5 separate regions of the Homo sapiens genome follow, and regions 1, 3, 4 and 5 are each linked to region 2. Evidence: promoter capture Hi-C in 16 types of primary human blood cells and fetal thymus (Javierre and others, 2016). All regions are on one chromosome and are shown on one strand. The core of a region is centred on a gene start or on the middle of the fragment in contact, and the rest is flanking DNA. Distances in the headings are between cores, read along the strand shown.

Region 1 (5,704 bases), core at 1,211-3,710, 480 kb before region 2:
GTCTCCGCTGTATTCTGAGCTGAGCTTGATCTGGCTCCCCTATTGTGATAGTCTTGACACCTATCAGAATGGTCCAGAATAAAGTCTTCCTTGCTGTTTGAACAAGGGTCAGAATAACTTTTTCTTTAACAATCGTTAACACACTGCGTTCTTCATCAAGAAAGCCTTGCTACCAAAAAAAAACTGCCTGCTGTACTAAACAGTGTTCTTGGGGATATAATTGACTGATGTTCAGGTGCAAGAAACTTATCCTGTTAAGGACGGAAAACAATTGCACGCTTACATTGATCTGGTCCCCAGGCCACACTTTCATTTTTGCTAGTTTGAAATCTACAGTGGGGAGAGAAGGCTGAGGGAGTGAGCAGGGGAAGAGATGCTTTTTCACACCAGCACTCCATCTGGAACGCCAGGAGGCCCTCTCCAACACACCCTCAAAGCCTGGCCAGAGTAGGCTTGGTGGGTGCCAACCAACCTAGGCCTCTGATCCCTGTACTCATGGCAGGATCCTGCTGGTCCCCAGGCAGCAGGTGGGGATGTCAACAGGTGGGGAAAGAGCATTTCCAGTCCCTCTAACTTCTAGGGAGGCTGAGTCCCCATCAGCAAATCTTAGCTTAGGGCCTACCATGTGCTGGCCTCGGTGCCTGTCACTATGGGCATCGATAGTGGAGGCCATGGCCCTGCATATATGGGGTTGACACTCTAGCTGGGCAAGGGCCCAGTGGCATGTGCAGTTAAGCCAGCAAGAACATCTTTTTTTTTTTTTGAGACAGAGTCTCACTCTGTCGCTCAGGATGGAGTGCAATGGCGTGATCTCGGCCCACTGCCACCTCTGCCTCCCAGGTTCAAGTGATTCTCCTGCCTCAGCCTCCCAAGTAGCTGGGATTACAGGTGCATGCCCCCACACCTGGCTAATTTTTATACTTTTAGTAGAGATGGGGTTTCACCATGTTGGCCAAGCTGGTCTCTAGCTCCTGACCTCAGATAATCTGCTTGCCTCAGCCTCTCAAAGTGCTGGGATTACAGGTGTGAGCCACCACGCCCAGCCAAGAACACTTTTCTTTATTTCTGAAAGGAGGCAACAGTAATACGGCAATGACAGACATATCCATTGCCCACTTTAAAGAGACAGGTGTTCGGCCCCTTCTTGGTATGACTGCAGCCAAAACCAAGGGTCAGCTGAAGACTGCACAGTGCATGCAATGTGTGGTCAAGTAAGAGCCAAGCTCTGGAGAAAAACTTTCTCATTTGGATCCCTTTCTTGTTTTACCACTTACTGAGTAGGGGACTGCGAGCAAGTCACTTCACATCTCAGCCCTGGGGATCATAATAGCACCTCCCTTGTATGTCTTGTGATGATTAAAAGATGTAAGGACCATAGCAAAGTGACTGGCACAGAGCAAAGGATGTTCTGACTCATCTCCCCTCCTATCCAGGCTCCTCCTTGCCCAGGTCTTTTCCCAGGTGAATGGTGACTCCTTTCAGGTTCAGACCCGGGCTCAGCTTTCCAGCCCAGCACCAGCGGGCTCCAGAAGGCCTTCTAGATCCTGTAGTCCTGCCACATAATTAAGGCTCATTTTGAGCCATCTGCTGTTCATGCATTCATTTTTGTTGATCACCTATTATGTGCCAGAAGTTGTGCTAGGCTCTGAGGTCACAGTGGTGAATCAATCAGTCATCCTGCCTCGTGGAACTAACACTGCATGGGGGCTGGGCACTAATCGACATGCAATTAGAGCTGGAAAAAATCCCTCGTTCAAGTCCACAGAGCTCCGCCATACTCTGGGGGCAAGAGAGAGGCTTCCATGTAGGGGGTGGGACATTAAAGCCATGGAGAGGGGGTCATCCCCTGGCAGGGGTAGGTGGGGTGGACCTGAAGAGGGAGAAACACAGCTCAGAACAAACAGCTCAGGCTCAAAGAGGATGGGAGTGGACTCAAAGGAGGGGTGCAAAGAGGGAATTTTGAGGCCTTGGGTTCTGAGCAAAATGGGGCTGGCATCTTCAGGCCACCTGAAGGCCAAGGGCATCAGTATCCACCCACCACAGAAGGCCAGGAGCCAGCCATCTTGCAGTCAGCCCAGCTGTCCAGTCTCCTGGAAGGCCATCTGTGTGTGGTCCTCACTGTCCTGGGATTCCTCCATGATTCTGGAGAATGGGGGCCATTCACCTCTTAGATGGGTGAGTTAACAGAGGGCCTGAAGGGCCTTGTGGAATGCAGTGGAAGACACAGCCTTGGCTCCTAAGGTGCCTCTGATCTCTGTGTAGGCCCCATGACAACAAGAGAAGAGAACAAAATTCCAACAGCCCCCAGGGTGGGCGGCTTCAGACAGCTCAGGGTGTTTTGATACAAGCTGCTCTGCAGCCCCGAAGCTTTCCTTGCTCTTTGCATGAATTTAGCCTTCAGGGAGAGAAGGAATGTGCATCCCAAAGAAACAAACACAAGACAGCTCAGCCTAGGGGAGAGTGACAGCTGGGACCTGGAGCAGGCCCAGGCAGCAGGCGGCACATGACAGTTGTCTGATTTGGCTGTGTCAATAAGTGCTTTGCTGAAGCTTTCAAAACAAAAGATTATCCATAAAATGCACGGTCCCACTTCTTGTTTCCCTGCCCAGACATTGTATGTGGCTTTTGGAAAAGAGTCAGGATGTCTTTGTCATCAGAGCCTGGTGTCCCTCAGTCACCTGTTGAGAAGGAAGGAGGGAGGGTGCTGAGAAGGGAGGGAAAGGTGGCAGAGGGCTGGCCCACTGGGCTGCCACTAGCTTCTCCCACCTGCATTTCAGGGAATAAGGAAGACCAACCGGTACCTCACCTAACATCCCTTCAACAAGCCTCACGCTTGAAGAACACACAGCCCAGCTGGAGAGAGAGGCCAGGACCCCACATCATCACAGAGTGGGTGCATCAAGAGCAGCTGGGGCAGGGGCATCCCGGAAAAGGGCATCGTCCCTGAAGGCTGCTGGCCCTGAAGGAGCTCTGGGAGCAAGGGGTGATGGTGGGGCCTTGAGGCCCAGGTAGGATCCGGAGTGTGAGAGGGAAGATGCCTTTGGAAATGAAGCCCTTGGTCACCTCAGTGAGAAACATGGCAGGATTTGCTCTCTTGTTGCATTATTTAAAATGAAGGCAGATGTCAATCATCTCAGGCAGGTTTACATCCTAAATGCAACTGACCCGGTCCCGTATATCAGCCCCCTTGTTGTGGCCTAGCAGCCCAGAGAACCTACAGTCCTCTTAGCTGGCAACATCACAGAACATTCCACCTGGAAAAACCTTAGGGAATCCTTGGTCAGTGGTGTTCAGTTCTACCCCACCCTTTCTGTCTTTAATTATGGACTTCTGTATTCAAACAAAACATTATAAGAAGCCAAATATAAAACATAGCAAAGCAAAGCTACTCAGACCAAATCAGGGATAAGAGACTCCGATCTGCCCATGGGTTTCAGAAAACGCCACATGAAAATGCCTGGGCTACTTCCACTGGCTTATACACTGGAGAAACTGAGGCACAGAGCGACAGTCCTGACCATACACTATGTGAGAGCAAAGACCTGGTTGGTCTTATAGCACACTGCATCCCCAGCATCCACCTCAGTCAGTCCTGGCACATATAGATGCCCAATAAATATCGGTTGGACAGATACAGATTAGTTGGATCAACATACATTTTTTGCATAAATAAATATTTGTTGGAAGAGACACACAGGCAATGCTGACGGCCTTTGCACAGTCATCTCTGTTTTTCTACAAATGCAACTACTTTTTGAAGAGGCTAAAGGAGGGACTTGCCTCTGAGACAGGGTCTGTAATTGCCTATGTTTGGAATGTACAGCATTTGAAAGGTTTTAATTTCCTGATCTAATGACAAGAATAAAAGCAGAGGAGTAGAGGGCCAGGGAGGATGAAAAGGAGCCACAATTTGCATCCAAGATGGAAGTGCCCTTTGTTGTCCCACATCCAAGTCAACTTCAAAGTTTTCTGCTGCATGGAGATGCACATCAGTCACCATGGCAACCACCAATCTGCCCAGGCTACTCGACCCTGGCCAGCCCTCTGCCAGCCATAGCATGTGCCTGGCTTTCAGAGAGCCAGGTGGGGCAGAGAACACAGGGGCTGCCGCTCAACCTCGCCAGCCTCCACCCAGCACGTCTTATTGGCTCTCAGTCTGTGGGGAGAGGGGTCTGGGTCAGCACCTCGATTGGCTGCACTGTCATCCTGCAAGCATGCATTAGTAGCCACCAGGTGCCTGTGCATCGGGTCACTCCTTAGAGATAACACTCCCGTGTCTGGCACTAGTCGCTGAACAAAGGCCTGTGAATGAGTCAATGAATGAAATCATAACCAGAGTCCCCTGGGAGCTTCTAAAATAAACAAATGCCCAGCTCCACCACCTGAAACTGGCTGCATCAGCATCTCTGGGAGGTACAGGCAAGACTGGGGGGCTACAGTTGCACACGCGCCCCTCAAGTTAGAGCAGGAGGAGAAAGCTGAATGGAGACAGTCCGGGTGGGGCTGCTGGAGCTGCCACTCACGGAGATGGCAGGAGGGGCGCTTGCTTTGGGATGTGTCGGGTTAGAGGTGCCCAGGAGGAGTTTGGGAGTCCGGAGTTCTGGGGAGAACTCAGGGAGGGAGGCAGCCTTTTTATCCACCAGAGTGATGAGACCATGGTGAGGGTGCAGAGACAGATGTATTCACCCATTTTCACGCTGCTGATAAAGACATACCCGAGACTAGGCAATTTGTAAAGAAAAAGAGATTTAATGGACTCACAGGTCTAAGTGGCGGGGGCGGCCTCACAATCATGGCAGAAGGCAAGAGAGAGAATGAGAACCAAGCGAAAGGGGTTTCTCCTTATAAAACCATCTGATCTCATGAGACTTATTCACTATCACTAGAACAGTATAGGGGAAACTGCCCCCATGATTCAATCATCTCCCAGCGGGTCCCTCCTACATCACGTGGGAATTATGAGAGCTACAATTCAAGAGGAGATTTGGGTGGGGACACAGTCGAACCATATCAATGAGCAAGAGACCGAGTATCCAAGGTATAAGCCATGGAACACACGGGCCAACAAGGAGGGGTAGGTGAGGGAGATGAGAGTGAGCACCAGGCAAATGTGGTGCCTGGGAAGCCAGGAGAATGTGACAAGCACAGGCTGGGGAAGAAAGATAGTCATGCCCAGAGCATCAAGGCAGGAGCTGCAGAAGAAAGTCTCCCATCCAACATGTGGTGACTGCCGGCTGCTGTGGGTGCCCCACCTGGGTGGGGGCTGCCTAGACTACCTCTGCCCAAAGACTGGGGCCTCAGTGGTGGCCACACTGAGCATATCTTGCAAACCCCTCCTAAGTCCACCAGGCCTGAGGTTCTTACCTTGAAATTTACCTCTTCTTCCTCCATCAAAGGCAATGAGCTGAGTGCTGGAGAAAGCTGAGCCATCCCATTATCTGCCTCCTAAACAGTAATGGGGGCCAGGTGCAGTGGCTCACACCTGTAATCCCAGCACATTGGAAGGCTGAAGCAAGAGGATCACTTGAGCCCAGGAGTTCAAGACCAGCCTGGGCAACATAACGAGACCTCCATCTCTACAAAAAATACAAAAAGTAGCCAGGCATGGTGGTGCACGCCTGTATTCCCAGCTACTAGGGAGGCTGAGGTGGGAGGATCCCTTGCACCCAGGAGTTTTAGATCAGCCTGGGCAACATAATGGGAC
Region 2 (5,088 bases), core at 2,433-4,932:
TGGACTCTGACTTCTATTTGCATGAATGGATGTGGTGGGGGTTTGTTTGGGGGCTGAAGAGCAGAGAGGGAGTCTGTTGGCAGGGAAGCGTGTGTGGGGCTGTGGGTGAACGGGATCCCGGAGAGGATGAGAAAGGCCTGAAGCTGAGGAGGCTGTTTTCCATCAATGTTTTGCTCTCTGCGCCAGGCACCATCCTAGGGTCTGGGGGCTCTAAATGTGGACATGGCTGGTCCCACTTTGGAGAGCTGGCAGCTAGAGGGGGAGGTGGGTGACCTGAAGCTGGAGAGACCTGAGTTCTGGTCTCAGAGGTCTAGTCTCAGCACTGCAGCTTCTGAGCTCAGTGACCTTTCTGTATCTCAGTTTGGTCATCTGTACAATGGGGTTAACAATACTACTGACCTTGGAGTTGTTGTGATAAGTGCTAAGATAGGAGTGATGGGGGGTTGGGCACAGAGGAGAGAGGAGGGGCCTCATGTGATCTTGGAGGGCTAGGTGGTGTCCTGGAGGAAGTGCCATCCAAGCTGAGGCCTGTAGGAAGAGACAGGGTTGGTTACCTGGCAAAACTAGAGGAGAATCGGCTTCCAGTGGAGGCACTGGCTCTTTGGGGACCTGAGGGCAGGCCCTTGAAGCTGGAGTGACCAGCAGGAAGGGAACTAGAAGGTGGTCACTTGGCTCTGGGCTGGGCCACTTTTTAGGACTTGAGTATCCAACCGAGATGTGTAACATTCTCTCCACCAGCTACCACAGTCTACAGCCTGTGGAGGGTGTGGAGGGTGGAGAAGAGATGGTATAGAGGGTGCTGCAGTGTACCCACAGAGAGCACTGTGAGGAGGAGTCTTTGGAGGGGAGCTTGAGGGAACTTGGTACAGAGCAACCTCCCAGGAGTCTGGGCGTGCCCTGAGACAGCTGGGGCTGTGGAAAGGCATGAGCCCTGGGGGTCAGCAGAATGTCTGTGTGCTGGGCTGTGTTCCCGCTTCACTTACTGATTCAGCCAGTCAAGCATCAAGGATTTATTAAGTGCCTGCCATGTACCAGGCGCTGTTCTAGACACAGAGATGCAGAACTGGCAACACAGTCCACGATCTTGCTCTCCTGGGACTTACTTCCCAGTGGGGGCGAGGCAGCAGTTTTAGATAGAGTGTTCTGGGAGGAGCAAGCCACGTGATTGATTCTCTTGAAGGATGTGTCCGGGGGAGTGACCCCCCAGGTGGGGCCTGTGTGTGTTTGGGCTTTGGGGGGAATGGGAGAGTGGAAGGAGCTGAGGTCACTGAGGCATCAGGAGGCCAATTTGTGTAGGACCTGGTAGCAGGAGAATGACATGCTCTCTCTCTGGCTGCTATTGGGGAAGAAGACTCCAGGGAGGAAGGTGGGAACCCTTCCTTGATGTGGCGTGCTGAGCCTTGAACCCCAGCCTTGCTGCTGATGGCCAGAGGATGCCTGAACAGGTGCCTCAGCCTTTGAATGCTTCCTTTTCCTCTCCTGCAAAACCGCAAGGGCCACCATGAGAACTAGGTGAGACCACAACAGCCCCTCGCTGGCGGGCTGGATGGTGTGCTCAGCAGGGCGCGTTGTAATTAGTGTGATGAGCATGAAGGCCGTGAGGGCAAATCCCAGGCAGAGTGTGCGCTGCCTTTCATGCTCCCCTGCAAATCAAAAGTGTTCTGCTCTCTGCCCCCAGCACTGGGGCCTGCATGTCACCTCCCATCCTTCTCACGCACCCTCATGTCACTGTGGCTGGGAGTCCCATGAGGGCACGTGGCGCCCAAGGCCCTTCCACAGCAGGAGGCAGATGTGCAGGGGCTACGGGTTTCTGCTGCTTCTGACAGGCTGTCAAGGCCAATGTCCTGATGCCCTGGTCTGATGGGGAGGAACGAGTGCCTTGAGGACACTGAGGAGGGCCCCCCTGGCCAGCATGGGTATGCAGGGGAGCCTTCCTGGAGTTGGGCAGTCCATGATGAGAAGGAGAAGTTCTTAGGTTGCTGGTGGTGGTGAAATGAGAGGACGGGTGATCCAGGCATCAAGCACATTTTCATGTCTTTGAAATACCAGCATAAGAGAAGCAGGGGTGGGTGAGAGGGATTGAAGAATCAGAGCGGCTGTAGCTGGAGCTGGAGTAGGGTGGGGACAGACCAGATCACAAAGCATGGACTGAAGGGGTGAGACAGGAGGGCGGGGGAGCTGTGGGCAGGCTGTCGCAGGCACGTAGGCAGGAAGGGCCCTCGGGGGCCATCAGTGACTTAATGATTTTTACCATGTGCTAGATCCCAAGCTAAGCATGTTACATGCATAGTCTATCTAATCTTCAGTTTTATGAAGTGGGTTCTCCTGTTATACCCATTTCGCAGATGAGAATATTGAGGCTCAGATAGGTTAAATAACTTGACTGTGGTTTCATGCACAGCCAGGAACTGTCCATTTGGGATTTTTAATGCAGGCAGACAGAAGACAAGTTTTGTGTTTTGAACTTGTCACTCTGCCATCACCTTCTGGTCTCCAGGCTCTCGCAGCAGCTCTCTGCCCATTCCGTCATCCATAACGCTCTCGCAGCAGCTCTCTGCCCACTCCGTCATCCAGAACGGGATTGTACGATGAAGCCTCCCCTAGGTGATCTTTGGGAAATGCCACCCATCTCTGGAAGTGAGGGATGCTGGTGGTTACAGCTGGGTGGGAATCCCAGCTCCGCGACTCACCTGCTGGGTGTGATATTGTAACCCTGCCGATCCTCAGCTTCCTTATCTGCAAAATGTTAGTTATGGGGAGGAAAGGAGATAGAGGTAAAGCACCAGGCAGGTAGCACAGTGCCAGGCACCCGGAAACGACCCAGTGACGGTGCTCCTCGGATTCCTATTACTGCCCTCGTTTGCCAAGGCAGGGTGGTGACACCGCGGACCCAGGGGGTGCCTGGCCAGGCCCAAACAGGTGCCAGCGGCGCGTGTGTGTGGAGGAGCTGGGGACAGGGAGTATGAATCATTCACAACTGAAGCCTTGCATTATTAATATCGTTATTCTCAGACTTCTAAGGAGGGCCCAGCTGGATCCCATATATGGAAGGCGCGACTCAGCCTCCGGGGCAAGCACCTCCCTGGGTCCGGAGTTGCCATGGAGTCCCGCAGGCGGCCTGGAGGCGGTGCCCCGGGCTCGGCCCCCGCGCAGGTCCTTGGTCTGCGGCCTGGGTCCTGCCCGCGCCGGGGTCCACCCAGCCCGCCTTTGCGCCGGCCCAGGGCCGCTCCCCTGGGACCCTGGGGGACAGACAGAAGCTGGTGGGGACTGGCGCGGGCGTCCTCGGGAGAGCGCCGGGCGCGCTGGGCTTGCTGAAGGGCTCCAGGCCTGGCCATTCGGTGACTTCCAAAGAGGGGACGCGCCGCGGGGCCCCGAGGGCCTGAAATCCGCTCCCGCAGCGCAGCCCCGGGCGCGCCACTACCCCCGCCGCGGTCGACTGCGGGGCGACCGCTCGGTCCCGAAGCCGGGAGAGGAGAGGCCGGGCCTCGGCGGGCCGCTCTGGGCGGGCGGGGAGCGCAGCTCCGGAGCCAGGCAGTTCCCCGCGCCCGCCTTCCCCGACCTTTCCCGGCCGGCCCGAGCTCGGAGGGGCGGGGCGCCGGGCGGGCCGGGGCGGGGCCCGGGGAGGAGCCGTGGCTGCGGCGGCTGCCGCGTCAGAGCAGCGCTCCCGCTGCCCGGCGGCTCAGACACGGCCCGAGCGCCGCCGCGGACGCGGACAGAGACCCGCACGGGCACGGGCGCTGCGCTGGAGGCTCCCCTCGCGGTCCGGGGCTGCGCGACCATGGCGGACAAGGAGGCCGGCGGCAGCGACGGGCCCCGAGGTGAGCGCAGGCTGCGGGTCCTGCGGCCGCGGCTGGCGGGGCAGGGAGGGAGGAGGCGCGCTTGGCCCAACGCTCCGCACCCCCTCGCGCGCCGTGGAAAAGTGGGGACGCCCGCGCTGCATCCAGTTCTGGCGGGCGGGGCCGGGGTCAGCAGCAGCGGGGCCGGGGGCCGGGGTCCGGTGGACCGGAGACGGCCCGCGGGTCACATGTTCTGCGCCCCGCCAGGGTGCGGACTCCGCGGCGGGGACTGCAGCCCCCGCTGAGGCGCCTGGTTGGTCCCTGCCTCGGGTGGCGCCTCCTGCGGGGCTGGTCGCGCGTGCGGGTGAGGACCGCCCCGCGTGTGCAGCCCCCGCGCGATGGGCTGCGGAGGCCGGCGCTGGCTGGGTAAAGGGCCCGCCGCCGGGTGGCCGGGTGGCCCCAGCGGGTAATTTTCGTGACTCAGCGAGGCAGGAGTGGGAGCCTGGGGGAAATCGGAGATTTGGACCTGTTCCCTCGCCCCATCCCACCCCGGCCGGACGCTCGAGCCAGGAGTGGGGGCTGCAGCTGCGGCCGAAGGGCTTCTCACCCACCTCCCCGCCCATCCCCAGGGACTCACTGGGCTGGGGAAGGGTGAAGCGGCGGGGGTTCGATGGTCCCTTCCTTGCGGGGGGCAGGGGGAGGCACCCAGTGCGGAGGACAGACGCTCGCATTTTGCAGATGTGCTAGGGCCGCTTTCTTTGGGGAGCGTGATTAGGGCTCCGAAGGGTGGGGGAGCCGGAGAGGACGGGGAAGGGGGTTGCGGGAAGAGGACGAGCAGGTTTCGGAGCCCAGGGCTGTAAATCAAGGCTTCTCCCACGGAGGGCCCGGCTGGCCAGGATTCCAGTCTTCCTGTGGGTCCCAAGTGGGGAAAGTTGGGCGCATGGAGGCGCCGCGCGTCCCTGACCTGCAGGGCCTCGGCGAGAGCGGCCGCCGGGGAGAGGAGCGCGGCCCAGGCATCTTTCCCGGGAGCGACAGGCAAGCCGCCTGCGAGGATGATATTAAAATGCCGGGACGCAAGGGAGATTCAGCCACGAAACGAGCGCTTGGCTCTGCGGGGCCCCAAAAGCTGGAGAAACTGAGTCCAGTGGCAGCACAGCCACCATCTGCGCTGGGTTCCCTGTCTTGCTGTCGGGCCTGCGGCCCCCACCCTCTGCTGCACTCCAAGCCGCACCTGCCCCCACCCCAGCCCATTGTTCCTGCGGATCAGGGAGGTGCCTCCCCACGCGGCACTGCAGTGGTGGGGGAGTGCAGG
Region 3 (5,049 bases), core at 140-2,639, 410 kb before region 2:
TGTCTCTATCACTTGAAAGAATATCCACTCTGTGAGTGTTGTGCTTACACATTTTGTTCCTAGAGCCCAGCCGACTTACTGTCATGCTCGAGGGAAGCTTCATTTAGTTGATCTGTTTGGGTTATACATTTATGGATTTATTCCACAAATCACAGTGGTCTTCACAGTCATGATGATTCTTCTTTATGAAAAATAGTTGAGAAAGCTAGAATATATTTTTAAGCCCTACTTGGGAACCTACAAGCAGAAATTAACTGGCATATTACTGTGTTCCATTTAAGTCTAAGAGGTTGAAATCATTAAGGCCAACACGTTTTATTTTTCCTTAAGGATATCAGACATGTGACAAAAAAAGCTTTCATAAGGAATGCCTGAAATAGGGGAGAAGTTCTTACAATGGCTTGTAAGAAGTTCTCATTTCCCTACTGATGGATTGGGAGGCTCAGAGAAGTCTATGGAACAAAAGAGATCCACTCCAGCTTTGAGTGAGACAAAATTTTTAAGGTCATGGCTGTTTTTTTTTTTTTTTTTTTTTTTTTGAGAGAGAGAGTTTCACTCTTGTTGCCCAGGCTAGAGTGCAATGGTGTGATCTCGGCTCACCACAACCTCTGCCTCCCGGGTTCAAGCAATTCTCCTGCCTCAGCCTCCCAAGTAGCTAAGATTACAGGCATGTGCCACCACACCCGGCTAATTTTGCATTTTTACTACAGACGGGATTTCTCCATGTTGGTCAGGCTGGTCTCAAACTCCTGACCTCAGGTGACCCGCCCGCCTCGGCCTCCCAAAGTGCTGGGATTACAGGCATGAGCCACCGCGCCCAGCCGTAGATCATGGCTGTCTTTAATACCATTTCCTTAAAGTTCCCTAGTCCTAAATGTGTGAATTCTGAAATATTCTTAAAGGGTCATGCTTTTGATGGCATTACATTGGTTTTTTGTGATATGATCCCATTACACATCATGATGTCATGGTGTATGATGTGTTTGCAGAAAGTCCAGGATTATGGCAACAAGTGAACCGGATAACCCTTCTGCTTTCTTACAGCTCTTCCGAAAACTTCCTTGTTTTGCCTTTTCAAACATCAGGGGCGTGACTTATAACAGCCAAATTTTGCCAGCATGCTGTGTCATGGGTTCCAGTCCGTGGAGCTCCGTCATACTCTGTTGGGCATCCTGTGTCTTATTCCTCTCTTTAGGTCCAGTTTCTACATACCTTATCTGTGTTATCTCAGGCTTCAGAAGCTTCTCCGTAACGTGGGCTACTTTCCCCTCATCACTGGGTATTTATTTATTTATTTTTACTGAAGCCTGAGCCCTGTAACGTTACCACACTGGCCACAGCTTCAGGAGAGAGATCACTGCTCTCAAGAACTTACAGTCTAGTGATGGATACAAAGGTACATGAAAAAATAACTAGCAATGGAAAACAAAGCATGAAATGCGATGAAACGTGGTCAGGATGCTAAGTGCTATGACATATCACACTCGGAACCTCACTTTGCTCATATGAAAAGCTGGAGAGAATCTTCCCAAGCTTAGCACATCCTCATAGGATTTTGGTGAAAATCAGATGAGATGGTAGGTATGGAAGATTTCTGTCAACTACAAGTCAATTACGCCAAAAAATTAAGAGGTCTTGTCAAATCATAAAATTAACAGAATTATTATTAAACCTTAAGAGGGCACTTGAGATAATAAATGCCAGATTTAGTAGCATGGTAGTATCATTCTATCTGGGGTGGGGGCAGGAGGGAGGGAGTGCCATAGGAATGGGTACACAGAGGGCCTTCAATTCCATTGGTGTGCTGTGTGTCTTATGCTCAGTGGTGGTTATACAAATGTTTGTCATCTCATTCTATAAATTTTGGTGGATATTAAATATTATAACATATATAGTTTGGTTATTGAGGTTTTTTGTTTGTTTGTTTTTGTTTTGAGATAGAGTCTTGTTCTGTTGTCTAGGCTGGAGAGCAGTGGCACAATCTTGGCTCACTGCAACCTCCACCTCCCAGGTTCAAGCAATCCTCCTACCTCAGCCTCCTAAGTAGCTGGGATTACAGATGCCCGCCACCATGCCCAGCTAATTTTTTATTTTTACTAGAGACGAGGTTTCACCATGTTGGCTAGACTGGTCTCCAACTCTTGACCTCAAGTGATCCGCCCACCTCAGTTTCCCAAAGTGCTGGGATTACAGGCGTGAGCCACCGTGCCCGGCCAGTTATTGAGTTTTAGAAGTCTCATTTTCGGGATGAGGAACTGAGATCTAGACAGAGAAATGCTTGCCTAGAATCAAACAGCCTCTTAGTAGCTAAGCTAGTGCCTAGATCTTAATTGTTTCCACTCCCCCTCAATGTGTATTTCCTTTGTCCTCTGTAGATCTTGCAGTCATCCTGGATTCCCCTTTCCCTCATACTCAATCCAACAGCAGGTCCTGCCATGTCTACCTTCTAGCTATGGGCTGCATCTGCGCACTTCTGCCCCTTGCCTGTGCATCAGGACATTCCCCAGCCGCCCTTGACTGAGGGTGGAAGGGGAAGCGTAGAGTCAGGCAGGGCTATGGTACAGGTTTCCTGGTTGGGTCTAAACTGAAGGAGCATTGTATTTATTCAGATGGAAAACATAAGGAACCAGCACATCTGTTATGTGTACTTTCATGAGACATTTATGTAGTTATATTTGAAAGTACTCTAACAGTATCATGTGTTCTTTAAAAAAAAATTTTTTTTTTGAGATAAGGCCTTGCTCTCTCACCCAGGATGGAGCGTGGTAGTGCAACTGTAGCTCTCAGCAGCCTCAAGCTCCTGGGCTCAAGTGATCCTCCAGCCTCGGCCTTTTGAGTAACTAGGATTGCAGGTGTGCAACACTACGTGCAGCTATTTTTTAAATTTTTTATAGAGACAGGGGTCTTACTACATTGCCCAGGCTGATTTGGAACTCCTGGCTCCAAGCGATCCTCCTTTCTCTCCCTCCCAAAGTGCTGGATTACAGGCATGAGCTGGTGCTCAGCCTGAAGTGTTGTTTATAAATACATATGTGCATGGGGAGGTGTTTAGACATGGTTCTGCAGCCATTGGAAGAAAGGCACCTGCTTCTCTCCTATGCTCATCTTTGAATGCCAGGATTGAGTTCCACATCTTCAAAGTTGCCATGGGCACAGTCTGGCTCTCACCCCGGCCAGCGCTTTCTTTCTTCTGACCTCCTTCCCCACAGGCAGCCTGGACCACAAAGTTTAGCCCTCAGGAATGTCTTGATTCATTTGACATTTCAGTGGAAGATTAGAAGTATCCCGCACTAGGAGCACATATGGCAGGTGAGGTCCCATCCTGCAACCCAGGAGGCTCTGTGCTCCCTGAGAGTGGGTTTCAGCACATTATGTGGCAGGTAGGTGCTCCTTAAATATTTGCTGGGTGAACGAACGAAGAGCCTCCTCACTGGGGTCCCTATTTGCACTCTTACATTGCTATGAGGTATCTTTACACTGCTACAGGGGTCTTTTAAAAGCATTGATCAGATCGCAAACTCTTGTGGCTGCCCATTGCTCTTAGAATAAATATAAACTCCCTCTCGTAGCCTACGAAGCCATTCTATGGCCTGTTGCCTGCTTCCTTTCCAAGCTCTTCTTTCACTCTCTCCTTGACTCAGCCAAAGGAGCCTTCCTCGGTTCCTCTAATATGCTACACATTCCTGCCTCAAGGCCCTTGCCCTTGTCTTTGTTCTGCCTGGGAATCTCTTTCCCTGGTTCTGCACATGCTTGGCCAAAACAGTCCCAGTCACACATTCTATGACCTTGTAGCACTTAACACTGTCTGAATTATCCAGCTGATTGATGTGTTTACCTGTTCCTTGCCTGCTGCTACCCTCTCCCTCTAGACTTAAATTCCTAAGCCAGGCACGGTGGCTCACGCCTGTAATCCCTGCACTTTGGGAGGCTGAGGTGGGCGGATCACTTGAGGTCAGGAGCTCGAGACCAGCCTGGTTAACATGGTGAAACCCTTTTTCTACTAAAAATACAAAAAAGTTAGCCAGGTATGGTGGTGCATGCCTGTAATCCCAGCTACTCAGGAGGCTGAAGCAGGAGAATCACTTGAACCTTGGAGGCAGAGGTTGCAATGAGCTGAGATTGTGCCACTGCACTTCAGCCTGGGAGACAGAGGGAGACTCCGTCTCAAAAAAAAAAAAAAAAGTCCTTAAGAACAAAGCCAATGTTTGCCTTTTTCACTGCTATGTCTCCAGCCATTTAACCTAAGAGTGGCAATTCTTAGTTGCTCAGTAAATGAATGAATGAAAAAAAAGTCATTCCACACTGTTATGGACTGAATTATGTTCCTCCAAAATTCATATGTTGAAGTCTTAACCCCCAATATGACTGTATTTAGAGACAGAACCTTTAGGGAAGAGATTAAGTTTAAATGAGGTCATAAAGGTGGACCCCTAATCCAATATGGCTGGTGTCCTTTTCAGAAGAGGGACACCAGATCTTTCTTTCTTTCCTCATGGGCACAGAGGAAAGGCCATGTGAGGACATAAGGAGGAGACAGCCATCTATAAGCCAAGAAGAAAGCCCTCACTAGAAACCAACTCTAATGGCACCCTGATCTTGGATTTCTAGCCCCTGGACAATGAGAAAATAAATGTCTGTTGTTTAAGCACCTAGTCTGTGGTATTTTGTTGTGGCAGCCCCAGCAGACTGACATACACACCATCTTACCAGCTGGCTGGCCTTGGACAAATCATTTAACCTCTGTTTGCCTCAGTTTTTTTACCTGTTAAATGGAGTTAGTCATAGTCCCTGCCTCGTAGAGTTGTGGTCAAAGATTAAATGAGTTAATATATGTAAGACCGTTAGGATACTATTTTAGTGTTAACTGTTTGTATTAGTGTTAGTAAAGCAGGTTTAGTTACATTTAGTGAATAACAGCAATAATGCAAAATTTTAGAACTCCTGATAGGACATCTGGAAGGAAAATGTCACTGCAGGAAAAGGTGGCTTGGAGAGGTGCCAAAATTAATGGGCAGATGCAAGGGGACGGAAGAGGAGAAGAAGTTCTCG
Region 4 (5,590 bases), core at 2,619-5,118, 430 kb before region 2:
CCCGTCTCTAATAAAAATACAAAAAAATTAGCCGGGCGTGGTGGCATGCGCCTATAATCCCAGCTACTCGGGAGGCTGAGGCAGGAGAATTGCTTGAACCTGGGAGGCAGAGGTTGTGGAGAGCTGAGATCATGCCACTGCACTCCAGCCTGGGCAACAAGAGCGAAACTCTTTCTCAAAAGATACATATATCTATATTTTGGACCTAGATAGAGGTGATGGTTTACGTAACATAGTCAATGTACTAAATGCCACTGAATTATTCACTTAAAACGGTTAATTTTGTGTTATGTAAACTTTACTTCAATAAAAACAAAAGAGAAAAGATTATGTCCATACAAATGGGGTGTTTAATAACCAGAAATACCATATGGACTTAGTGTCATCTCCTCTATCAATGAATCCGCTCTGGAGTAGGAGCATACTAGGTCTCAGAAGCTTGCAAATTTTATTCTTTTTTTTTTAACCGCCTCACTCCGCTCCCAAGAAGCTTGCAAATTTTAATCTGAGTTAATTTGCAAGTGGATTTGGGTAATCTGGCTCTAGATCCACTTAGAGGGTGCCTGTAAATAACTGTCTTGAGGGCAGGGGAAAGGCATTATGGCATCAAGCAGATAAAGCCTCTGATCTAGTTACAGTTCCTTCCAGGGATGAATAAAGCTTTGGGGACATTATCCAACCGCTTTATAAACCCAAGTTTATAAGGCCTGAACCCTCAAGCCCTTGAATTCCTTGTCACCACCTACAAATTTAGATGAGTTGCCGCAAGGGGGCAGTGGTGTCCAGGCGATGACCTCCCATGTTGCGCAAATTCGTAGAAATACTGAGTTTCAGATTCTCGAGTTTCTCTCGTTGAAAGCGGTAGCAATTATCCCCAGTCCACTTAACAAGCCAACAGCCATTTAGAAAATATGTATGTATATTAAAGAAAATACTGGATCTGGAAAAAGATCTTTCGAAAACATCATGTCCAACCAGGGTTATTATACAGAAACTGGGTTGAGAGAGGGCAGTAATTGGCCCAGAGCCACGGAGCCAGGCCTGGAACCCAGGTCTCGTATATTCACGTCCCATGCTCTCGGTGCTGCAGCCTCCTGCTCCCCTGAGCCTTTCTCCGGCGTTCAGCACAAGCCATGCCTGCGTGGTGACATGAGCACCTGTCTTTGTTGTTCCTACAGCACAGTTCCCGTCCCATTTCACCGCTGCCTCCAAATTCCCACCCCAGCTGCGCCACGTCTCTCAAGCAGAGCTGGCGATCCGAGAGCAGTGACTGGGGACGAGTGTCCACGCGGGGCTGACGAACTGTCAAAGCCGCCACCATCTGTCAAGACCTATGAGGACGCACACAGCACGGGCAGGCGGGCAGGAGAAGTGGCGGACGCAGTCGGCCACCCAGCATCAGCTCCGGAGGCGCGCTGCTTCACCTGGTGACCTGTCCCCGGCCTACGGGTCTCCAGGAAGCACTCCAGTCCCTGCCAGATGCTAGCGGGAAGGCAGGAGGGGGCGCCGTCCCAGCACCCCGGAAGCTGCCAATCTGCTTGCGGGGCTGAGACCGATCTAGGAAAGGGTAAGCAAAGATGCACGCGCCTGGGCGGCACGCAGCGGATTTCCAAGTCGTCTGCACAGATCATTGACCCCGCAGGACACGTGCGCATGTTGGCAGGGCCGACTCCGGAGGAATTCCAACTCTTCTGAATCTGCCACCTTGCAGAGGGGACAGCTGACCCTTCGCCCCATCTCTGAAAGGGCCAAGGATCTTTCCTCTCATTGCTTCCTACTGAATGCCCAGGATGCCTCGGTGTTGCCTACCTTCCGCAAAATCCTCAGGGCTGGATCGTTTTCGGAAACTGCCACCAGAGGGAGCTCCAACAATAGAGCTGGATTTTGCTTCCTCCCAGCTCATAAAGGAAGTCGGGGGCGGGGGAAATGCTGTTCTCTGCCACCAGCAGGTGCAAAGATCAGTTTAAAACGCCCAAGATTGTAACTTCACTACTAATTCGTGAAAAGCATATGGTGGAATAATGCTGGATCTGCAGAGTGACAGAATAGCTGTCCTCCACCGTGAGTTTCCCTCATTTCAGACTCAAATACTTCAGACCCAAATGATCTCCAAATCAGAACTCCTGCCTCTGCATTCAGTCTGTAGTGTTCTCTCCAGAGGACTGAATCCTAGCACCCTCGCTCCCCTCCCCTCCTCTGCCAGGCTTTACAGCCTCCGGAACTGCCCTTTCAACCAGAACAGAGCCCAGACTGTCACCTCGAACATCAGAGGAGTCCCAGCCCCATTCCTGAGTGCCCCTCTTCCCCCAGCTGCCCTGTGAACAGTGATAAGAGCTGTGACTGTGTTCTCCAGGCACTGAAATTAAAGTCAGAACCACTCCGGCTATAGATTCCATGTGCCGCTTCTTACTGCAGACCCTCATCTCGGTTTGGGATGGGGATGTGGGCAGTGTGTTTTGCTGCCAGGATGAAGTGGTTCAATTCTCCTAGAAGGAGATGCAGCAGTCACGTCCAAAAGCATGACAAAGCCCACCTAAGATGACCTGTATCTTAGAATAGTCTGAATTCATGAGGCTTCCGTCCTCATGTGAATATGTCACTAGCACTTGTTCCTTCTTCTGGGGGTATACTCAGCCAGCAATTTCCTTCTTTAAGTTTGGAGACAGTTGTAAAGAGGGGAGAACCCTTGGGCTCATGGGCCTTTAGTTTTCATGCAAAATCTAAGACCTCACCTAGTGGGGGAGGCAGAGAGAATTGGCCCTGACTTTCAGGTTTGGGGGTTCAGCACAGATCACTGTTGTGGGATCCAGACATTCCTGCACCCAGGAGATGTGCAAGGACAAGCATGAGAAAAACTGCATCTGGCCAGGCACAGTGGCTCACGCCTGTAATCCCAGCACTGTGGGAGGCCAAGGCAGGTGGATCACCTGATGTCAGGAGTTCAAGACCAGCCTGGCCAACATGGTGAAACCCCGTCTCCACTAAAAATACAAAAATTAGCCAAGCATAGTAGCACATGTTTGTAATCCCAGCTACTCAGAGGTTGAGGCAGCAGAATTGCTTGAACCTGGTGGAGGTTGCAGTGAGCCGAGATCGCACCACTGCACTCCAGCCTAAGCAACAGAGCCTTGGGGGAGAAAAAAAAGAAAAACAATGTATCTGAGGCGTGCGTGACTACTGGGTAACGGCAGCCATTCCTGGGGATGTCTGGAAAGGCTTCAGAGGGCAGGCAGACCTGAGTTCCTCCTGCCCTCTACCAAGAGATGACTGCAGCCTCCAGCCTGGCCTGCACTGGCAGGCACCTTCAAGAGGGACGACAGGACCAACAGGGAGCTGCTGCTGTCCCCCAGGCCTCCCCTGCTCAGGTCTCATTTGCCATTCATGACTTGTAGCTGAGATGGGTGGAAGGCGCCCTCTGAGGCATCTGGGTTCAAAACTCTGAATGAAGAGAGCACTTGCATTCTCTTTCTTCTCATGCATGGTCAAAAATGCAGACTCTGTCCAAGATGGTGCACACTCAGGGTTTTGGTTCAGGGATGATCAAGCCCCTTCATCAGTGATTTTCATCCTCATGTCAGCTAGTGCCTCCTCTGAAATGGCCTAGAGCCTTCATGCCATTGCCTCTGCCTTCCCCAGCATCCCCATTTCACAGGGCAGCTTGAGGAAGAGGGGCAATGAGGAACAGGGCTGAGACTCCTCTGATGTTTGTGGTGACAGTCTGGCTCGGTTCTAGTTGGAAGGGCAGTTCCTGAGGCTGTTAGTTCCAGACCAGCCTGGCCAACATGGCAAAACCCCGTTTCTACTAAAAATATAAAAAGTAGCCGGGTGTGGGGGTGCACACCTGTAATCCCAGCTACTCAGGAGGCTGAGGCAGGAGAACTGCTTGAACCCAGGAAGCAGAGATTGCAGTGAGCCAAGATAGCGCCACTGCACTCCAGCCTGGGGACAGAGTGAGACTCCGAAAATAAAAATAAAAATAAAAATGTGCACATTCTGTTATTCATGTGTGCATTTTAAAAAAAATGGCCTTATCAAGGATGAGGGTTTTGGCATTTGTGCAAAGCCTGAGGTTTTAGGAAAATGTCGTTGATGAACTGACGCTGGCAAGACTCTCCATTTACAGTAACCTGTGACTAGAAATGTCTCACGTTGGGAGAAAAATGAGGAATCCGGGAGAATAAGTGTCATGGTGGGTTTATGTGGGGCATTTTCTTCTTTGTCCAACACCTCAGATCTGCAACCAAACCAGCAAAAGCTAGTACGTCTCAGGAAAAACTTCTGCTTGTTACCGAGCTTCCTGGAAAATTGCATTTGGAGAGCTATGAAGGCTTGGCTGTGAGTAATTTGTTTTTTAAATAGCTCTGTTAGTTGGTCCACATTGTGTTTTTCATTCCACCAGAGCCGAAGGTGGTGTTTCTTTTGTTTATGGTATTAGTGTTATATTATTGGTGATCTCATTGTTCTTGTTTGTGACATGTTTACCTCAGTAGGACAGTTATTGTAGGAGGGAAGTCGGGAGCCAGTCTACCCACCAAACCTGCAGAACTAAAGAAAAAGACTCCAATCTGTCCCGCAGGGTGCATATTACTCCTTTCTTGGATTGTTAAATTCTAATTATAGGCTGTTGATCCCCATTAGAACCATTTGTAAGCCTAAACACTGTTGTGCAGCATCTTTTGCCAATAGGTGTGTTTCATTCCAATCGTTGTATAAAACATAACATTCGTGCTTTTGGGGGACTACAACAGGTTAGTGTTCTCTGGCAAAGTTGGACAAGAAATAGTCAAAATATGACTCAAAACTAAGATAGTGCAAACAAAAGTACACTTTGCCTTGATGTTTATTTATTAGGGATTTCTGAAACCCTAGGACACTAGAGCTCACCTTTCAGATCTCAGACCTCAGATGCCACATCGTCAAGGAAGCTCTCCTGGACTGCCCACTTCCACATTCCTGGGACAGCAGAGATCTCCCCCAGCCCTGCCTGGCACTTGACACAGTGGATCATTTCACAGGACTGGGGGATTAGTTAACTGTCTTTCCACTAGATGGAAAGTTTCAGAGGAATCCTGTCGGGATTACCGATGCCTAGTATGATGCTTAGCACACAGTAGGCATTTAATAAATGTGTTGTGTAGTGCCTGTGTACTGTTTTATTTGGGAATCTTCAGAAGGTAAGAAAAGCAAATGGATACATTCATAATAAGTATGAGATGTGGAGAGCAAGCAAGTCCGTAGATTATAAGACGTAAGCAAAATTCATAGTATGTGTTAAGTAGAAGAGGGGATGAATAAGATGGAGCTGTGAGACTCAGGAAGAACTCACAGAATTCACATGGATAATGAGTAAATCAATAACCTGTGGGAGATGTTGAAGACAGATACAATAAGTGGAACATATAATAGAACAAACCAGAGTGCTATGGACCAATAGAGAGACATTAAAAGACCAAGTTGTAAGATACATTCATGCTACATCAGGGCTGACAGCTATCTGATTCCCAAAATCAGCCACTCATCCATCGGTGACACCCATTATGGTCCCAGTTGTGTTCTGCCCAAGAAGCACAGATAAACAGAGAGAGCTGTT
Region 5 (5,358 bases), core at 2,767-5,266, 400 kb before region 2:
TCATGTCCAGTAAGGAGGGAGGGATGGAAGTCCCTGCCCGCAGGAAGCTTAGCAGAGTCACCGAAGTTTAAAAGGTGAAGTTATCTAACTCAATTTGTGAAAGATCCTTTGGTGAGCCAGCTAGAAATGCAAATTCCTGGACACTGCTCTCAGATGATCATTCTGTAAGTTTGAAACCCAGGAAATGATTTTTTACTCACCCCCAATCAGCTAGTAGATGAGTGATAAACTCCTAATAAATGCTCATGGCCAGAAATAAATAGCATCATCAGAAACAAGAATTTCATGATTCCATTTCTACTTACTGTTGTTTAGATAAAATTTGTGAAAATTGATGTCTAATAATAAGGATTCCTCGCATTAACATTAAAGTCATTGCTCTGTGTCTTTTTGATACACACATGATCACCTGAAGATTTGGAAAATTCAAAGCAAGTATGGGTTTGGAACTAAAAATGGGGCAGTCTTGTGGGGTGTGGCAAAGAAGAGCATAAATAGCTTTGAAGTCAGGCAGAAGTCAATTCAAATTCTGCTCATACCAGTCTGTGTGACTTGGGCAAGTTACTGAACGTCTCTCTGAGTCTCCATTCTTTCACCTATAAAACCGGAATATTACTACATCTCTGAAGGAGGAGTTCAGATTAAGTGAGTTTATGCATCCAGTAAGTGACTGCTTCATAAATAATTCCCCTGGACACGTTGGCTCACGTCTGTACTCCCAGCTACTCAGGAGGTTGAGGTGGGAGGATCGCTTGAGCCTGGGAATTCGAGGCTACAGTGAGCCGTGATGGTGCTACTGCACTCCAGCCTGGGCGACAGAGCGAGAACCTGTCTCAAAAATAAGTAAGTTTAAAAAACAAACAAACAGGCTGGGCTTTGTGGCTCATGTCTGTAATCCCAGCACTTTGGGAGGCCAAGGCGGGCGGATCACGAGGTCAAGAGATCGAGACCATCCTGGCCAACATGGTGAAACCCTGTCTCCAATAAAAACACAAAAATTAGCTGGGCGTGGTGGCGCGCGCCTGTAGTCCCAGCTACTCAGGTGGCTGAGGCAGGAGAATCTCTTGAACTCGGGAGGCGAAGGTTGTAGTGAGCGTAGATCGCGCCATTGCACTCCAGCCTGGCGACAGAGTGAGACTCCGTCTCAGACAAACAACAAACAAACAAACAAATAGTTCCCCCTTACAACAAAATATGCCACAAGATGAGGGAGGGCAGAAATTTCCGAGGCCAAACTTAAAATTTGCATTTGGGATTTGGCCATACTTTGGCCGTTCTCTGTGGCAGTGAATGCGGCTGCAGACGTCCCAGCGCCGCCATTGCCCACAGGGCGTGTCATTTCTAAGGGCAGCTGTTTGTTCCCTGACTGCCCCCGCCCCGCCCCCCAGCTCCCCCATCTACCTAAAAGAAAATGTAATGGGTTGGGCCATTTTTATTTTTTAAAAAGCTTTCTTCCAGGTCTTTGACCGGGCGCCGCAGGTGTCCGCATGGGTTTCCCAGGCCGCTGCGGCCTTCACCGACAGAAGGAGGCCGTACAGAGGGGTGCGGCCGGGCCGGGGACCCAGAGCCATCTGGGTCCCATTTGGGCCAAGGCTGCGGTTTGGGACTTCCGCCGCCTGCAGGGCTCCTAAAGGGCTGAGGAAGGCCTAGAATCCTCCTGCGCACCCGATCTCGCGTAGTCCGAGGGTCCGACCCCTCCAACCCCTCCAGGGTAGGGGGCAAGGAAGGGCCGGTGTGCCAGGGAATTCGGTCGCACCCCTCCCTGCCCAAGGAGGCCCAGGAGCTCCCTCGGGCCGAGCTCTGCAGGGAAGTGAATGCCCCATCTGCTGCAGGGACCCCCATCAGGAGGACCCGAATCCCAGGGACCCGCACCCGCGACGCGGTAGTGGGAGTCAAGACCCGGCGGCTGCACCCCCGACGGCTTGGCCGCATGGGAGCAAAGCCCTCGGTGCCTCAAGGCGCCAGTCTGGGCTTTTGAGCGTTGCGGGAGGTAACAGGAGAGTTCGCCGGATTTTAACACAATCCCACTCTACATCTTCAGAACAGGGTGGCCGCAAAGTCCCTTACCCCTCTTACCCGTCTCTGCTCCCACCCGCCTCACCAACCCGCCGGAGCAGAGCTCGTAATCAAAGGCACTTTCCCCGGGCGCCCAGTCGGCGTCGGACTTCGAGGGCAGCGTGCGCAGCGAAGCCGGGCTGAGGGGCGATCAGCCCGCTGGGGACCCTGGAAACCCGCCGCCCTGCGGAGAGTAGCTCGGGACAGTTCCACCGCTCCGCCCAGTCAACTAAAGTGGAAGCCTGATGTCGGCCTGCAGGGCCAGAGATGCCCTCCGGAGCTGGGCCAAACCTGGGTGCCCCTAAGTGGCTGGAGGGGTGGCTGGGTGGACAGCGCGAAAGACCCCGCTCAGGGGGCCCCCTCCTGGCTTGGGACGGTAGAGGGGTCCCGCGGGGTGGCGGCGGAGGCAGGGGAGGTGGCGGCGGGGCGGGAGGTGCGGACGGTGCGCGCGTCGCTGCGAGCTGGAGCCCCTAGGGGCCCGCCACACACACTCGCACCCCTCCCCCTCCCGGCCTTCCTCCCACCCGCTCGCCGCGACCCCCTCCCCAACCCCCTCCCCTCCCCCCGCCTCCGCCCCATTCTTGGAATTGTGTGGAAAAATTCTCAGCCAAACCTCCCACCTCTCCTCTCCCCCCACCCACCCCCTTTAAAAAACCCCTTTCCTCCCCGGCCCCTGCACTCTTTGTGAATGAGGGCAGGGAACACGGCCCTTCCCCCGCCCAGGAGCCACGCCAGACCGCCGCACTCAGAGGACTGTTTGTTAATAGTCCAATTAGATAATTGCCATCTTTCACTCCTTTTGCTCCGCATTTCCCATAAAGGAATGAATGGGGAGAGCGGCGTGGAGAGGGCTTCTGCCCCGGCAAGGTGACGAGAAGGGCTGGAGCATGCTCCTTGCACAAGGCCATGCGCTTGAATTGAATCATTGTAGCCTAATCAATGCTCTTATTGGATTACTGGCTGTTGCTTTTCTCAAAGATATTGTAGCAGAGACAATGAAATAGCTAGGGGAAAACTTTTTTTTTTTTTTTTTGAAGCAGATCTCACAGTTGAGATTTCTCGGCCGTCTCTCCCTCTCCCCCTCTCTCTCCTGCTGGACTCTGAGTACAAAGCTGCCCTTTGAATGGGCTGCCTCAGGGCTGCTGGAGGTGCAGGCATGAAAAAATCCAACTGGAACTAAATGAAGAGAGGTGGCAGTTTAAGATGGCTGTCTGCGTCGAGGTGTGTTAAGAAGGAGTTGTTTAGGGGAAAATCTTGGCTTTTTTAGAGTGCAAGGGAGATACTTTTTGGGAAAACTTTCTCCCCCCGCTCTGTCCCCCATCCCCCACTCCCAGACAACTGCTTTCTTCTGCCGCAGGGTGCGCAGGGTTTTTTTTTTCTCCCCCCACACCCCCCCGCCGCCCAACCCTCATTCAGCTCTATCTGGCGAGTGTGGAGAAAACCCCTCTAGCCAGTATGTGAGCAGGAGGGTCAAAGGCAAAAGGAAAGTTAATAATGCCTGCTAATGGTACTAACAATTCAGGATGAATCTTGTCAAAAGTTTTTCTGGAAGTGTGGGTCTTTGATTGTGTGTTTCCTGAAAGCAAGACCAATCATTTCCGTTTATTCACTGGCTAAACCCCTACTTGATTGGGGACAAGGACAGAAACCATCCATTACGATCTGATATATTATCCAAACAATTTAGTGTATTCATGAGGTAACCGAAACGTGGGGGCTGCGAAATTACCCGTAATCAATTGCAACAGCGAGTGTGCGTCCCCCCGGGTGTCGGACAACTACAACTCGCCGTCTCAGAAACAGGCGGGAGCCGCAGCATTTCGGAGTTGCGCTGTTCGCTACCTGATCGCCAGGCTGGGGACACTGGACGTGCTCAGAGGACGCGGGTGCTGACGAGGCGGCCTCGCCGCAGCTCCACCAGGATCCTGGACCAGACTGGCCGCCTCTCGGCGAGCGCGCCACTCTCCCGTCGCCGCTGACCCGCGCGCGGCCGCCGAAGCCTCCCCGCGGGGACATTCATTCTTGCCCCTTGCCTGTCGCCGGGCCGGGCGTACGGGCCGCGTTGTCGGGGGTTTTGTCCCCTTTTTCCTCTTTTTTTTTTCCTTCTCCGCCCCCCCCCCTTTTTTTTTTTTTTGCTTTTTTTTTCCTTTCTGTTTTTGTTGTTGTTCTTGCCTATGTTCGGGAAACCAGACAAAATGGACGTTCGATGCCACTCGGACGCCGAGGCTGCCCGGGTCTCGAAGAACGCGCACAAGGAGAGTCGGGAGAGCAAGGGCGCGGAGGGGAACCTCCCAGCCGCCTTCCTCAAGGAGCCGCAGGGCGCCTTCTCAGCGTCGGGCGCTGCTGAGGATTGTAACAAAAGTAAATCCAATTCCGCAGCGGACCCGGATTACTGCCGCCGGATCCTGGTCCGAGGTAGGGATGGGCAGGGCTGCCAGGCGCGTTCTTTGGGGTCGACTCCGGGGCCGGAGCTGCGCGCTGCCGCCGACACAGGCCGGTGGGAAGGAGTGCCGGCTGGGACTTGGGAGAAAGTTGTTGGCCCTCCCCGCCCCGAGTCCGGCTGGGGACAAGCGCCTGGGACTCTCCGGTGCGCTCTCCAGGGGCCTCGGCCCTCCACGCCCGGAGGGGCCCCGCTGACCGGGCTGCGGGGGGAGATGAGGGGCTGCGCGGGTGCGGCCGGGCATCGGGCTGCGGCCTCCGACCCGGGAAAGGAGCAGAAAACTCCGGGAGGAGGTGTGCGCGCTCCAAGGGCCGGACGACCTGCCGGGAGCCGGCCAGGGGACTCCCGCGCTCTGGAGGGCTGAGCGCACCCAAGGGGGAACGCGAGCCCCGGAGAACAGCTGCCGATCGCGGGCTACGGCCCTGCCAGTTAGTGCACTGGGCCGAGGACCCCACGGCCGCGATCGGTGCCCGACCGCTGCCGCCGGGAGAGGCAGCTGGGCTTGGTTACGGAGCCGCGGTTGCCGCTTTGGTGCTCTGCTCTGCCGCTCTCGGATGGCGCGGCGTGCACTTAGCCCCGGCGGCGGAGGCTGCGAGGCCGGGCCCCGGCCCGGCGCCGCCCCAGCCAGCAGCAGATCTCCGGGCCCGGCCGGCCCCGACTCAGTCCCTCCTCCTTCCGCCGCGCGGACTCCGGAGGGAAGGAGACTCGAGGGTGGGGGTGGGGACGTCTGGATCACGGTCTGGTCGGCAAGCCCAGAGCTGGGGCCCGCAGGACCCGGGCGGGGCGACAAGGGTACCCTCAGGCTACAGGGGACCCGGAAGGCTCAGCCGAGGCCCCCCCAGGCCGGAAGAAACGTCCGCCTA

What was found. Contacts are between HindIII fragments. The CHiCAGO score rates a contact against its expected background, and 5 or more counts as called.
Region 1: a fragment that was not itself captured here is called in contact with the fragment with the promoter of HSPA12A in region 2 in 1 of 17 cell types (naive CD8 T cells); the score reaches 5.4 in naive CD8 T cells.
Region 3: a fragment that was not itself captured here is called in contact with the fragment with the promoter of HSPA12A in region 2 in 2 of 17 cell types (naive CD8 T cells and monocytes); the score reaches 7.3 in naive CD8 T cells.
Region 4: a fragment that was not itself captured here is called in contact with the fragment with the promoter of HSPA12A in region 2 in 13 of 17 cell types (naive CD4 T cells, naive CD8 T cells, total CD8 T cells and 10 more); the score reaches 13.8 in naive CD4 T cells.
Region 5: a contact is called between the fragment with the promoter of VAX1 here and the fragment with the promoter of HSPA12A in region 2, in 3 of 17 cell types (M0 macrophages, endothelial precursors and monocytes). The highest score is 5.4, in M0 macrophages.

The regions. Positions count from the first base shown.
Region 1 is chr10:117,219,938-117,225,641 of GRCh38, reverse strand. No RefSeq gene overlaps it. Among named protein-coding and RNA genes, the nearest start is that of SLC18A2, 18 kb to the left of the region's middle. RefSeq lists an enhancer at 2,440-2,940. The HindIII fragment of the contact is 182 bases long and covers 2,370-2,551 here.
Region 2 is chr10:116,741,160-116,746,247 of GRCh38, reverse strand. It overlaps HSPA12A (heat shock protein family A (Hsp70) member 12A), which reads left to right and starts at 3,682. Exons shown (of 12, transcript NM_025015.3): 1 at 3,682-3,818. The coding sequence starts at 3,779. RefSeq lists enhancers at 2,409-3,112, 3,113-3,817 and a silencer at 3,368-3,817. The HindIII fragment of the contact is 20,528 bases long and covers 1-5,088 here.
Region 3 is chr10:117,153,117-117,158,165 of GRCh38, reverse strand. MIR3663HG (MIR3663 host gene) reads left to right here. Exons shown (of 3, transcript NR_121651.1): 3 at 4,503-4,645. Among named protein-coding and RNA genes, the nearest start is that of MIR3663, 12 kb to the left of the region's middle. The HindIII fragment of the contact is 292 bases long and covers 1,244-1,535 here.
Region 4 is chr10:117,171,308-117,176,897 of GRCh38, reverse strand. No RefSeq gene overlaps it. Among named protein-coding and RNA genes, the nearest start is that of MIR3663HG, 5.0 kb to the right of the region's middle. RefSeq lists an enhancer at 1,600-1,779. The HindIII fragment of the contact is 6,412 bases long and covers 663-5,590 here.
Region 5 is chr10:117,136,928-117,142,285 of GRCh38, reverse strand. VAX1 (ventral anterior homeobox 1) reads left to right here and starts at 4,016. Exons shown (of 3, transcript NM_001112704.2): 1 at 4,016-4,470. The coding sequence starts at 4,230. RefSeq lists enhancers at 1,261-1,846, 1,847-2,433. The HindIII fragment of the contact is 11,137 bases long and covers 1,450-5,358 here.